Linked DNA regions of Homo sapiens: all the other regions are linked to region 1. The links are contacts of gene promoters, found by promoter capture Hi-C in blood cells and fetal thymus (Javierre and others, 2016). All regions are on one chromosome and are shown on one strand. Each heading gives the region's core, a stretch centred on a gene start or on the middle of the fragment in contact. The rest is flanking DNA. Distances are from core to core; before and after follow the strand shown.

Region 1 (4,803 bases), core at 784-3,283:
AGAAGTTATTAGGGCCGCAGCATCCATGGGAGGGCTTTGGGGAGAGAGAGAAGAGCTAGAGCTGACCCTGAAGGGACGGTGATTCCCAAACTGTGGTAATCTGGGTGGCCTGAGTAAAGTCATCTGTGCTCAGAGGCAGGGACCAGGTGGGTCTCTCTGGGATGGGGGTTTGTGTTGGAGGCAATGAGCAAAAGTCTGAAAGTATAATTTGAGCCCTTAATGGTAAAGTCCAGAAGTTTGACATCAAAGATGGCAGTGATTTGATCAATGTCGCTTACTGAGGTTTAAGGAAAGATACAAATTATCTGTAAAAATGTAAACTCAAAACAAATTTGTCAAAAGTTCAGTATAGTAGTGTATCACCACTGTGCTAAAGGTTTTCTTATTTCAAATAACTCAATAAAAATGAGGCAAACCATTCTGTAACTAGCTAAACTGAAGTCCATACCAACTATTTAATGCTTCAAAATAACCTTAAACTTCTACTCACTTATCATTCTACAATTTAAGTAAGTAATGTTTCACATTTTCAACAGAATGTATGCTTATAGACACATAAACACGAAAGATAGGGACAGATCATCTTGGTGACTTGCACGTATGTGGCAAGTGTCCTAGGGAAAGGAGCAGGCATGGGGTGAAGGTGGGAACAAGAGTGCCTGGCGTGACCATGTGAGGCAGGGCATTTGGCTATGTGTTGCTGTGTGCTCTGTCTCACCCCCGTGACCCAAGAATATTAGTGTGGCAGGGTGTGGACAGCAAGGATTAATGGGTCATTGGCAAACATGGGCGAGGCTGGTGTTTTACTCCCTTCTGAACAGTCTTCAGTACTATCAAGCTTTTGCTTGTTTTTTGGTGGTGTGGATGGCAGGTTTCATTTGCAGGGCCAAATATATATAAACTAATAACTGCCAGGAATGATTTGTGATATGGAATGAAATCTTTCAGTACTTTTTAAATGATAGAGGCATTAAAAGAATGCAGGAGAAATAAATTCCTGTGGATGAAGCAGACTTTTTTTGGGGGGACAGAATTACTCAGTTCTAACATTAACTATGTTTTATTAGTTCTTTGAAAAACCTGCAAATGATCTGGTCAGTTCTATAATTTTAAAATCTAAAATCGTTTACTATCCCAATACCCTAAAAACAATACTTACTGTGGGGTCTTTTATTAAGACTTTAAAGATACTTTTCATAAGCACAATTTTATTTCCTGGTGACTGGAAAAATAGGAAAATATTTAGAGCCTTTTGCTTAATTGATAAGGTAACACTGAAACAAAGGTTAAAAACAAAGCTGAATGGAGAAAATAATGCCTATAGAAATATTCATGTCAAACAGGTAAGAATATTCTTGGCAACTGCAGCCCCTGCCTCCACAATTGCAAAATTGCAGCTCCCTGTCCCTTCTGTCTGTCTCAGCTCCGCCCACGTCCAGTGGCTGAGCTACAACGAACTGCCCCACCTCTTTTAAAGCGTCTTTCTCTGAACTGTGCAAGGAAGAGAGCATCGCCTGACAGTGGTGAGGTGAAAATTAAAACTACACAGGGGTCAATGCTCTGCTGAAAAGTATGAAAAGAAGTTCGTTTGTAGCGTTTCCCGCAGTCTCCTCGCCTCTCCTCGGCCTCTGGCGCCTTCCTCCCCTGTCTGCTCGCACCCTATATTTCTACCCCAGCTCATCAGTGTATTTGTTTGTTAATTCATTCATTCTTTCATTCATATTCTCCGCTGTTGTTAATTTTCCCATTGACAGTAGGCGCAAGGGGCAACGCCACTCGCCCTGTCCCTCTAGCGTGGCCTCTGTTTGGGGGTCTGGGGTGGAGGTCGTCCCGGCCCGGGTGGTTCCGGACGCCGGCTTTCCGCACCTGGCTCGGTGACGGCCTCGGCGCCCCGCCCTCTTGGCCACGGTCCGCAGCCATCGCCCCAGTGAGGGCGCGGTCTGTGGGCGGGGCCGGCTCCAGGAGCCGCGCTGTGATTGGCCGTGTCCAGGCAACCGCGGAGACGCCGTCGTCAACAGACCGCGCTCGGAACCAGAGGCGCGGGTCACAGAGACCTAGAACAGCTGGAATCCTTCGCCCCCGGCGCGCAGCCTTCGCCCGCCGGAATCGCTGCCTTATCCACCAGCGGGATGCTTACCTCGCCCGCCCTCTCGGGTCAGGCGGGCCCGGGAGGATGGGAGGGTGGCTGCTGAGCGGGAGCCGCCACGTCTTCCACCCGACATATTGCCTAGTAAGTGTGGGAGCGATGCCTGCCGCACGAGAGCCGCCGAGGTGCCGAGCCTTCCAACAAGCGGCCTAGGGAGGTCTTGGAAAAATGCCATTTCTGAGGTGGACTACACGCCCACTTTACAGATGCGGAAACAGTACCAGGAAAGCTCGGTGACTTGCCCTGGCCCACTTAATCGTCCGCTACCCAGGGCAAGCCGAGGGTCAAGGTACCGACCCCTCCTACTCTAGAGCTCTTTCCATCACACCTCACCCGAGCCCACGCCCAGCCGCTCTGGTGGAAAAGCGGTTTTCCTAGTTTCTGTCTATGCCATAGGCCAGCAGTTCAAGGTGATGAAGTCCACCTGGGCTTTGGAGGGAACATGGGAACCAGAAGAAACACATTTCCTGAACATAAGGATAAATATGTATAGTCTAAAAGCCAAAGCAACACTTACATGGTTTCACAATCATATCAGTTTCTTTCACCCTCCTTATATGGAAATAAGACTTAATAAGTAGATTTAGTTTCCATTTGGTAGAGCTTTTCCTTTCATTTTCTTGGAAGCTCTGTTTCTTCTCAGCAATGACCTTCCTCCTAAAGCACTCCAATTATTCTCAGATATTGCCTTCTTGACTATTTTCTCAACGGTGGGACAGTCCGTTTCAATATCCTTGTCTCTGTCCACATTATTTGAGCCAATGATCACAGCCAAGCCTTGTCCCTTAAGGGCAGAAAAAATGGGAGGAGGTTTAAGGGTTTCTGGGGAAGAGTTGCATCAGGATCCATCATGAAGCTTCGTCCCAGTTTCCTTTCTTCCTGGAAAAATCATCGTTCACAAATTCACCTAAATCACAAGATATATATCCACCTAGCCCAGACTTCTTTTTCAGAAACTAACAGGGGTATAGGAAGTTTGGGGTGTTGATAATAAAGTAGCTAGAAGCTTATTGAATGTCTAAACTGGATTAATGGACTCTCAACCCTGCACTGTCCCTGAACCTCCGAGCACATAGGACCTTTTCTCTGAGGGCATGCTGACTTCACAAGACTGTCGCCCAGGGCAGCCCAGGAGCATCTGCTTCCAGTAGACGGGGCCCTTGTACAGTTGCCAGCTTAACCTTTCTATTTTCCCCAAAGCTTTGCCTGCCCACATTTTCAGCTCAGACTTTCACTTCCTTGTTTTTCCTTTTACACTTCCTCCTTCTTCTAAGGAAATACTTTCCTATCCAAACTCTATGTATGGTTCTTGGGATGGCCTCTAAAACTTAGGGCAATGCTCAACTCCGGTATGTTGTTGTTTCCGACTTCTGGGTTACTTGGTTCCCCAATTTATAATAACCTCAGCTGAGGAAACTCTGAATAATAGTAAATAAATAAATAAATAGCATAGTTTTATCAGAAAATAATATATCCCCCTTTATTTTTTTTTGAGACAGGGTCTCGCTCTGTCCCCCAGGCTGGAGTGCAGTGGTGCAATCTTGGCTTACTGCAACCTCTGCCCCCTGGGTTCAAGCAATTCTCCTGCCTCAGCCTCCCTAGTAGCTGGGATTACACGTGTGTGTTACCATGCCCGGCTAATTTTTGTATTTTTAGTAGAGACGAGGTTTCACCATGTTGGCCAGGCTGGTCTCAAGCTCCTGACCTCAGGTGATCCGCCCGCCTTGGCCTCCCAAAGTGCCAAGAGAGCACTTTGGCACTTTAAGGGGGCATTACAGGAGTGAGCCACCGTGCCCGGCCAATATATCCCTTTTTTAAAAGAGCTGTTTCCTGATATTAGCCTTATTAACACTGTGGATATTTGCCTTCTTTGAACAAAATCAGGATTCTCTTAGTAGCTCTGAGTGATCAGTTTTATTCATCTCAACTCTCACACCAAGTGCCTGCTGCGTATGAGGCCCTGTGCTGAGAATCTTCCTGTAGTTTGTCTCCGTAGTCATTGAACTGTCTTTAAGTCTAGTGAGGACAAGCCTGAAGTGCCTAAGACCTTAGTGATAAAGTATCATAGCAAAAGTTAGGGTTTTCCCAGGGAGGGGCTGCGGAAGGTTGTGAAGGGGTTTCGGGGAGGCTTAATGGCAGAGGCAGCATTTGAAATGAGACTTGCAGGCTAAGAGTCTGCATAGGAGAGCCGTCTGAGACCAACCTGGAGGTGGGAAAGCAGGCGGGCTAGTGGGGGTGGGGTGGGGAGAAGGGGGCTACGTCCCGGCTCGCAGCAGGCTTCCTTGCTCTGATAGAACAGTTCCTATCCCACTTGAGTGGAACAATTCCTTCTGTTGGGAGATGGCTTTTCTCCCTTTCCCCCTTTCCTTCCTTTTTTTTTTTCCAGACAATACAAATATTCCATTTGTATTTCAGACAATACAAATATTCCATTTGTATTTCAGACAATACAAATATTCTCAGGCTACAAAACGCTGGAGGTAAGATCTGAATCAGACTGGACTGTACAGGTTCTCAGATCCAGTAGAGCCAATTACACTTTTTTTAAAAATTAATTTTTTAAAAGTCATATGAGTGCAAAAGGGACTGGGGCGTGCACCTTAGCTATACTGGAGAAGTTTTGATTGCCTTTTTTGGGGATCAAAAACATGTCCCTT
Region 2 (4,803 bases), core at 1,500-3,999, 110 kb before region 1:
TGGTGGGGGGCGCCTGCAATCCCAGCTACTCGGGAGGTCATGGCAGAAGAACTGCTTGAACCCGGGAGGTGGAGGTTGCAGTGAGCCGAGACTGCGCCACTGCACTCCAGCCTGGGTGACAGAGCAAGACTCGGTCTTGGGGAAAAAAATAATAATAAATAATAATAATAAAAAACAGCAATGAAGTTTGCTGCCATTTCATGAAAGATTTCTCTGTAGCATGCAATGCTGTTTGACAGCATTTTACCCACAGAAGAACTTATTTCAAAACTGGAGTCAATCTTCTCTAACCCTGCTACTACTTTATCGACTAAGTTGATAATACCCTGAATCCTTTGCTGCCATTTCAACAATGTTCACAGCATCTTCACCAGGAGCAGATTTCATCTCAAGAAATCACTTCATCTATAAGAAGCAACTCTTCATTTGTTCAAGTTTTATCGTAACACTGCAGCAATTCAGTTACATCTTCAGGATGCCAGCCACTCTGTTGCCCAGGCTGGAGTGCTTACTGCAGCCTTGACTTCCTGGGCTCTAACAATCCTCCCACCACAGCCTCCTGAGTAGCTGGGACAACAGGTGAGAGCCACCACACCTAGCTAATTTTTGTAGTTTTTGTAGAGACAGGGTTTTGCCACAGTGCTCAGGAGGTCCTTGAACTCCTGGGCTCCATATTCCTCCCGCCTAGGCCTCTGAAAGGGCTACCATACCCAGCCCAAGCTTCACTTCTAATCCTAGTTCTCTTGCTATTTCCACTGTATCTGCAGTCACTTCCTCTACTGACATCTTGAACTCCTCAAAGTCATCCATGAAGGTTGGAAGCAACTTCTTCCAAACTCTTGTTGATATTCTGACCTCCTCCTATGAATCACAAATATTCTTAATGGCATCTAGAATGGCAAATCCTTTCCAGGAGGTTTTCAATGGACTTTGCCCAGATCCAACTGAGGACTCAGTCTCTGTGGCAGCTATAGCCTTAAAAAATGTATTTTTAAAATAAGACATGAAACTTGAAATTACTTCTTGATCCTTGGCTGCAGAATGGATGCTGTGTTAGCAGGCACGAAAACAACATGCAGCTCCTTGTACATCTCCATCAGTGCTCCTGGGTGACCAGTTGCCTTTTTAACAAGCAGTAATATTTGGAAAGTAATATTTTTTCCGAGCAGTAGGTCTCAACAGTGGGCTTAAAATATTCAGTAAACCACATTATAAACAGATGTGCTGTCATTCAGGCTTTCTTGTTCCAGTTATAAAGCACAGGCAGAGTAGATTTAGCATAATTCTTAAGGTCCCTAGAATTTTTTCAGCATGACAGATGAGCATTGGCTTCAACTTAAAGTTACCAGCTTCATTAGTTCCTAACAAGAGAGTCAGCCTGTCCTTCGAAGCTTTGACGCTAGGCACTGACTTCTCCTCTCTAGCTATGAGAGACCAAGATGGCATCTTCCAAAAGAAGGCTGTTTCATCTACATGGAAAATCTGTTGTTTAGCGTGGCCACGTTTATCAATGATCTTAGCCAGATCTTCTGGAAAACTTGCTGCAACTTGTACATCGGCACTTAACCACTTCACCTTGCACTTTATGTGATGAAACTGTCTTCTTTCCTTAAGCCTCATGAACCAACCTCTCCTGGCTGCCAACTGTTCTTCTGCAGCTTCTTCCCCTCTCTCAGTCTTCATAGAACTGAAGAGAAGAGAGGGGCCTTGCTCTGGATTAAACTCTGACCTAATAGAATGCTTGTGGCTGGTCTGATCTTCTATCCTGAACACTAAAGCTTACTCCTATCAGCAATAAGGCTGTTTTGCTTTCTTATCATTCATTTGTTCACCAGAGTAGCACTTTTAACTTCCTTAAAGAACTTCTCCTTTGCATTCACAACTTGGCTGTTTGGTACGAGAGGCCTAGCTTTTGGCCTTTCTCAGCTTTGACATGCTCTCCTCGCTAAGCTTAATCATATCTAGCTTTTGATTTATAAGGGAGAGGTGTGACTCTTCCTTTCACTTGAACACTTAGATGCTATTTAGTACTACTAATTGTCCTAATTTCAATATTGTTGTCTCAGAGAAAACGACAGCCTGAGGAGGGGCGAGAAGTGGGGGAACAGCCAGTTGGAGCAGTCAGAACACAGGCATTTATCAGTTAAGCCTGCAGTGTCATATGGGTGTGGTTTGTGGGCATCCCAAAACAATTACACAATCACATCAAAGATCACTGATTGCAGATTACCATTACAGATTTAATACTGAAAAAGCCTGAAATATTGTGAGACTTACCAAAATGTGACATAAAAATAGAAGTGAGCATATGCTATTGGAAAAATGGTGCTAATAGATTTGTGTCAGGCAGGATTGCCACAAACCTTCCATTTGTAAACAGCATATTGGCTGTGAAGGAGGCAAAGTGCAATAAAATGAGAAATGCCTGTACCACTACACACCTGTTAAGATGGCTAAAATTAAAGGACTGACCATACCAAGCACTGGCAAGCATATGGAGGAAATGGAACTCTCATACACTTCTTATGGGAATATAAAATGGTACAGCCGCTTTGGAAAACAGGTTAGCAGTTTCTTAAACATACAGCTACCATAGGATCCAGACATTCCACTCATATGTACTTACCTGAGAGAAAATAAAATACATGTGCATACAAAGACTTACACATGAATGTTCAAAGCGGCTTTATTTATAACAGCCCCAAACTGCAAACAACCCAAAATTTCAACAGATGAACAAATAAATCATGGTATATTCATACAACAGAATACTACTCAACATTAGAGACTAACTATCAAGACACACAAGTTGGAAGAATCTCAAGTGTCTTGTGCTGAGTAAAATAAACCAGTCTTAAAACCATACAATCTCAAATTATACACACTAATTTCATTTATATGACATTCTCAAAAAGAGAAAATTACAGTGACACATAACAGATCAGTGGTTGACAAGAGTCAGAAGTGGACTATATGGAGATAGCACAGGTTTTGGAGGGTAATGAAAATGTTCTGTATCCTGACTATGGTAGTGGTTATTCAAATCTATACATGTGCTGAAACTCACAGAACTACACACCAAAAAAAAAAAAAAAAAAAAAAAAAAAAAAAAAAAAAAAGTTTAAAAATCTGTTAAGGTAGCTATCCACACACATACACTCTTTATAACCTTGCTGCTTTCATTTATCAATATACTTTGGAAATCACTAAAAAGCATATTCTAGAGGTTTTCCTCATTCTTTTTTAAGGTGCATAATGATCCATTATGTGGATGTAACAATTTATTCAACTATATAGGGGCATTTAGGTCATTTCCAATAGTTTTCATTCACAAATCATCATGCTATGAATAACCTTATATATATGTATTTGTATTGTTAAAACAGCCAATTCCTAAAAATGAGATTGCTAGGTGAAAACCGTAACATATATGTAATTTTGTTAGACACTGTGCCAAACTTCTTTCCATTAAGGTTGTATCTTTTTTGCATTCCAACTAACAAGGTGTGAGAACACGTGCTTTCCTGCAGTCTCATCGAAAGTGTTGTGAAGCTTTTAGAACTTTGCCACCCAAATAAGTGAGAAATGGTATCTCATTTAGGTTTTTTCCCCCTTAGATGAAAAGCCTATCAATTTTTAATAAAACTTGTTTAATAACAGCTCCCATTTTAAGTATATAATGCATAGTTTTCAGTGTATTCAGAGTTGTTCAACCACCATCCCAAAGAAAAACCCTTGTACCCATCATCAGTCACTCCCTACACTGCTCTCCATAGTTCTAGACAACCATGTTATCTATTTTGTCTCTGTGGATTTGCCTATTCTGGACATTTCATATAAATGGCTTCTATGGTCTTATATGGTCTTTTGTGAGTGGCTTTGTTCACTTATCACAATGTTTTCAAGGTTCACCTGTGTTGTAACAAGCATTCATAATAATACTTCACTCATTTCTATGGCTGAATAATATTCCATTTGATCTATTCTTCAAACATTTCAGTTGTTTCCACTTTTTGGCTACTATAAATAATGCTGCTATGAATGTTCCTGCACAAGTTTTTATGTGCAAGTTTTTGTGTTTTCGTTTCTTTGGAGTATATACTAAGGAGCATAACTGTGGGTCATACAGTAACTCCGTATTTTCAGGACCTACCAAACTGTTTTCCAAAGCAGCTGCACCATCTTATGTTACCCATAAAGCAACAAGACATTCCAATGTCTCCGCACCCTTGCCAACATTTATTATCCATCTGTTTGATCGTAGCCATATTGGTGGGTGTGAAATGGAATCTCATTTTGGTTTTCATTTGTATTTCTCTGATAGCTAATGATGTAGAGCATCTTTTCATACGTTTATTATATATCTTTATTAGGAGAAATGCCTATTCAGATCCCCTGCCCATTTTTTAATTGCACTGTCTGTTGTAACTGAGGTTATGAGTTCTTTATACATTCTAGATACATATCCCTTTATCAGATACATGATTTGCGAAAATTTTTCTTCCATTCTGTGGGTTTTCTGCTTTCTTTATAGGGCTTTTTAAAGCACAAAACTTTCAAATTTTGATGTCTACTTTATCTATTTTCTCCCCTTTTGTTGTTTGTGCTTTTGGTGTCACATCTATCAAGAAAGCTCATTAGAAACTCAATGTCTGTGGTAGGCTGAATAATGACTCCCCAAAATGTCCATGTCCTAATCCCAGGAAGCTGTGAATGTTACCTTACATGGCAAAAGGAATTTTGTAGATGTGATTAAATTAAGGATTTTGAGATGGGGAGATTATCCCAGATTAGTCAGATGGG
Region 3 (4,803 bases), core at 522-3,021, 88 kb before region 1:
GGTAGGCCAAGGTGGGCGGATCACCTGAGGTCAGGAGTTCGAGACCAGCCTGGCCAACATGGTGAAAACCCGTCTCTACTAAAAAATATAAAAATTAGCCGGGCGTGGTAGTGCATGCCTGTAATCCCAGCTACTCCGGAGGCAGGAAAAACGCTTGAACCCGGCAGGTGGAGGTTGCAGTGAGCCAAGATAGCGCCACTGCACTATACCCTCGACAAGAGCAAAACTCCGTCTCAAAAAATTAATCATAAGCAATTTTACTTTTTTGAATATTAGCCTTAAAATTGAGTAGTCAAATTTTATTTTGATGTAATGAAATAGGAATAATTATCTCTTAAGTTGGCGTTTAAAATGTCTGAGGCAAGAGATTTCTGGAAGGCTTTTGACTCACGGAAGAGATCAAACCCAAGGATATGTAACTGAGCGCTTTTGCTTAGCCTCCAACGTGCTAGCTCTGCAAGTCAGCAGCCCTTCCCCCATGGCCAGATTCAGGACAAACAAGCCTTTCCAACCATGAAGTGCTGAGGTTCTCTTACACAGCAATCAGCCACATCCCCTGGTTAGCCTGAGGCTCAGCAGCTCCATGGGAAATAACTTGCACCTGTCTGTAATTGGATCTTTAGACGTATACAGACATGTTTGATCAGAGTTCGATTTCCCATGCAGCTAATGAAGCTTAAGCCGCAGGGCCCCCTCTCTTGCACAAGTTCCTTCCAAGTCCCTGAACCTAATTGTGTATTTATAAGCCTGTATTCTTGTTCTTAAAGGAGCCCTCCCAATAGTTGGGTAGGCTTTTAAGGCCCACCATACCTGAACCCTCCCCTGTGCCTGAGGGACACTAGGAGCAGGAGGGGTGATGATGGAACTTTCCTCCCAGGAAAGGACAATGAGGCCACTGAGAGTCTAACAGTGAAAGACGTTTTGCTAGACAGCATGGTAAACTGTGTGTTAGAGAGAACCTGGCGTGGAGCCACCATCACCCTATGATCCTCTACCCCCACTCCCCAACCCTCATGTGTCTCAGGAGAGAACCAGGAGTTAAAATTGAAGGAACCATCACACTAAGGACTCTCAAATAGTTCTGATTAGTTGTGAACTTTTCTCTTTTTCCCTTTTGGAAATTGGAGAGACCTGGCCATTTGGCAGGTGGAGGTATTAGCTGGCAGAGTCAGGGAAAACTCGCTAAACCAGTGGTTCTCAAGGTGTCATCCCCAGACCAGCTGTAGCAGCAACACCTGGGAACCTGTTAGAAGTGCAAATTAGCAGGCCAAATCCCAGACCTGTGGAATCAGGAATTCTGGGTTGAGGTCCAACAATCTGTTTAAACAAGGCATCCAAGTGATTCTGATACAGGCTCAAGATTGAAGACTGTTGCACAGTGATATATGCCAGGAGCTACAAGCTGTTGGGACTCCTCACTTTCTGTTCATTTTGCTCTCTATGCAGGTTAGTAATTTACCATTCAAGGCAGAATTATAAGAGACTCAGACAAATTTGAACTTAAATCCCATCCCTGCCTTTACTAGCTATATGATGCTGAGCAAATGACTTTTCTGGCCTCAGATTCCTAATCTGTAAAAATGGGGATTATGATATAAATTTGGGGAGATTAAGCATATAGGTTTGTGAAGCATATAGACTAGTGTCTGGGACATAGGAGACTGTCAAAAGTAGCTATTAGTGAGCACTCACTCTTTTCAAAACACCACATTAGGCACGAAGATCCTTGATCCATTGATACCTCCACTTCATTCCACAAAATACTTAAGGAGGTGTGCAAGAATGCCTTCTATGAATTAAAACTGGAACTAGGAGGGAGTAAACTGTTGGGCTTTCCAGGGTTCTATCTCCTTTGCTGCATAGGTGAATGCACCTGGTATCCTGCCGTTCAACACCATCTATACACTTTCAGGTCCCCACTTCATGTCACCAGCCAGACCTCGCTGTCTCTATTGCTGTTCCCACTCAGGTGTATAATGAGGTGTCTTAAACTCACATGAACTCCACATCTTCCCATGCAAACATGCTTCACCCACAGCCTTTCCTATCTCCAGGGCAACTCCAACCATCCAGTTGCACAGGCCAAAAACCTGGGAGTCATTCTTTACTCTCTCCACATGTACCCAAATCTAACTGCTTCTCACCACCTGCACTACTCCACTCTGGTATGAGCCCTGTCATCCGCTGCCTGGATTTCTGCAAGAGCTTCCTAACAGGTTTCCCTGTTTCCACCTGTAAAAGAAAATTTTCCACTTACAACACTTGCATAGTAGATATCAAAACGGAATGCTATGCTCTACCACAACTGGTTCTAACCAACTGAAGCAGATCAAGGACTGTGAACTTTGAGTGACCCCATACCAGACCCTTGTTAGACCTAACCAAAGACTCCTTTCTGACCAGTTAACAAAGGGACATGTTTTATCAACACTATTCCAACCTATCCAGAGCACTACTTTCCAGCCCTTAATCCGCATAACCTCCAAACTCCCTTCTCTCTTTCTCACACTTAAAAAACCCTGACTTTTCCTAATTCATGAGTTACTCAGTGAACTTTTTCACTGGTGTGTTTACATCCACCCCTGGCAGTATATAAACTCATCTTTGATTTTTTTTTTTTTTTTGAGTTTTGTTGGGCTTTGCTTTATATTTTGACATAAATTTGTACTTTTATAGTCTATTGTCAACCTGACAGCCAGCATGATCCATTTAAAACATAAGACATGTCACGTCTCTCAATGTTCACATCCTGCAGTGGCCTGCTTAATGTTTTTAAAAGCAGTTGGGGAAAGTGAAATTTTAATTTTTAGAGACTGTATATTAAAAAAAGCAATAACAGGGAATATTTGAATACCCATCTCAGGGTAAAAGCTTCCTTGATCTGGCTTGCCCCGGTCTTTCCATTCCTCCTGGATTCCTCCAGGCTCGGTCTGTTTCAGCTGAAATGACCACCATTTTGTTCCTGGAACATATCAGGAATGCTTCTACTCCAGGGTCTATCCTCTAGCCCTCCACCTGAAGTGCTTTCTCCCCACCCCCTTCTCCCTGGTTCTCTGCTGGGCTCACTGTCATACTTCCTCTCAGTCTTGGCTCAGTTATGATTTTCTTGGCGAAGCATACCCTGATCACCACTGTTAATACTGCAGCTTATTACACCTACCCTCAAGACCCAATCCTCCTTACCTTGCACTCATTTTCCCCCCATAACACTTATCACTTTCTATAATACTATATACTTTACTTACTCATTAAATGTATTGTTATTACCAATCTTTCCCCCCATTCGTTTTGCTCACTGATGAATTCCGAGCTTCTACAATATTGGCACATATTGGGCACTCAATAACACTTATTACATGAATGGATAGATGAATGGATGAATGAACAGAACTAAAAGATAAAGATCACGAAGACATAGTCCTTCTCCTCCAGGGAGCTTCAAATCTGGTAAATAAGAGACATATACAAAATATGGTAGAATAGGAAGAAATGAATCAAAGGAGGAAAGAGGAGGAGTATTAAATGAAGGCAACTCTGGGTTCTACTCATTTCTTTATTTACCCAGCCTTTTCAAGTTCTTTAACTGATTTTTCTTTATTTTCAGTTCTCTGTCTCTTTCATCTAGTCTGAAGCCCACAGCAGTCAAGCGAGTAAGAAGGAATATGGCATCTTGTCTGTCTTATTCAGGATGAAGAGTAACCTGCTTATTTTGTCTCCTGTGTCCCTTATTCCTTGGGAGGTTTCCCTGGGTGTTATTCTTAAAAAAAGTCAGCTCACGAAGCCTAAGGTTTAAGTCTGTTCAACTTAGTAGTAAATTATGGTAACCTAGGGTAGGGCAAATAGACCTCAGTCAAGTTCATGCAGCAGGATGAGGGTAGTAGCTTCTGAGCATGTGGGCCGAGCTCTGTATCAGTGTGGATCCCATATTTGAAGATCCTTATTCATATATTCCTCAGGAAAACTAGATTCCTTTGCAATTTCTAAATCTACATGAACTAAGATCTCATCAATGACCACTACCACAACACATACATACCTTTACTAATAAACATACTGGATTTAGATGTGAGAATTAATGATGGGTTTGTTCAATATTTTCCTTCCAAGCTGACTGACACAGTTTATAAGCTTATATTTATTTTTCTGGCATTCTTTAGAAATGTTTTTTGGGACAAACAGCCAAGTTTAACATGAATCAAAATCTTGGCCTGCCCTTTCAACTCCTCCACAATAGGCTCCAGCGCCACTCTGATTTTTTCTCTCCTGCAACATTTAATTATTAATCTTGTGACTTTTGAAAAATGTCATGTGGTTTGGTAGTCTTTCAATTAAAAGGAGGGAAATAATACCCTAGTATTTTTCTTGTTCCTTCCACCTCCCCTTACCATTGTCCTCTCTAGTACTGATGAGTACTTTAAAGTTGATTTTTAGGCTGCCCTGAGTTTCTGAATGTTCCTAAACACCATTATTAAAGAAGCCTGCCTCACCCGTCATTCAACTGTACTTAATATTGCATTGCTTGGTGGAAACTAACAGCCATGGAAAGCCATTCAGGGGAAAAAAAGGCCATTGAACAATGTATTGAGGGATGTTTGTGTTTCTCCCTCTCCCTATTATTTAATTGCTTGTAACTGTAAAATTCCCAGCAATAGTAAGTAAAGGCAAAGATCAACATATTCAAGATGCAGATAAATACCAGAAACAATGAAAAAATTAAAACAGTAAAATAATGACAATTGCAGAGACAAATATAAGGTAGGAGAGACACAATTCTCTCTGCCAAGTCTGGTGTGAGTTCCCTAA

Evidence for each region. The method cuts DNA at HindIII sites, captures the fragments that hold promoters and counts their contacts. A CHiCAGO score of 5 or more calls a contact.
Region 2: a fragment that was not itself captured here is called in contact with the fragment with the promoter of VWA3B in region 1 in 2 of 17 cell types (monocytes and naive B cells); the score reaches 8.0 in monocytes.
Region 3: a contact is called between a fragment that was not itself captured here and the fragment with the promoter of VWA3B in region 1, in 4 of 17 cell types (monocytes, naive B cells, total B cells and 1 more). The highest score is 10.1, in monocytes.

The regions. Positions count from the first base shown.
Region 1 is chr2:98,085,134-98,089,936 of GRCh38, forward strand. VWA3B (von Willebrand factor A domain containing 3B) reads left to right here and starts at 2,034. Exons shown (of 28, transcript NM_144992.5): 1 at 2,034-2,230. RefSeq lists enhancers at 1,762-2,262, 2,159-2,228, 2,263-2,763. The HindIII fragment of the contact is 2,164 bases long and covers 837-3,000 here.
Region 2 is chr2:97,977,949-97,982,751 of GRCh38, forward strand. The region is part of intron 1 of TMEM131 (transmembrane protein 131); the gene reads right to left. Among named protein-coding and RNA genes, the nearest start is that of TMEM131, 16 kb to the right of the region's middle. The HindIII fragment of the contact is 1,602 bases long and covers 1,949-3,550 here.
Region 3 is chr2:97,997,449-98,002,251 of GRCh38, forward strand. It overlaps LOC124905591 (a long non-coding RNA gene), which reads left to right and starts at 195. Exons shown (of 2, transcript XR_007087148.1): 1 at 195-1,446; 2 at 3,605-4,493. The HindIII fragment of the contact is 2,196 bases long and covers 674-2,869 here.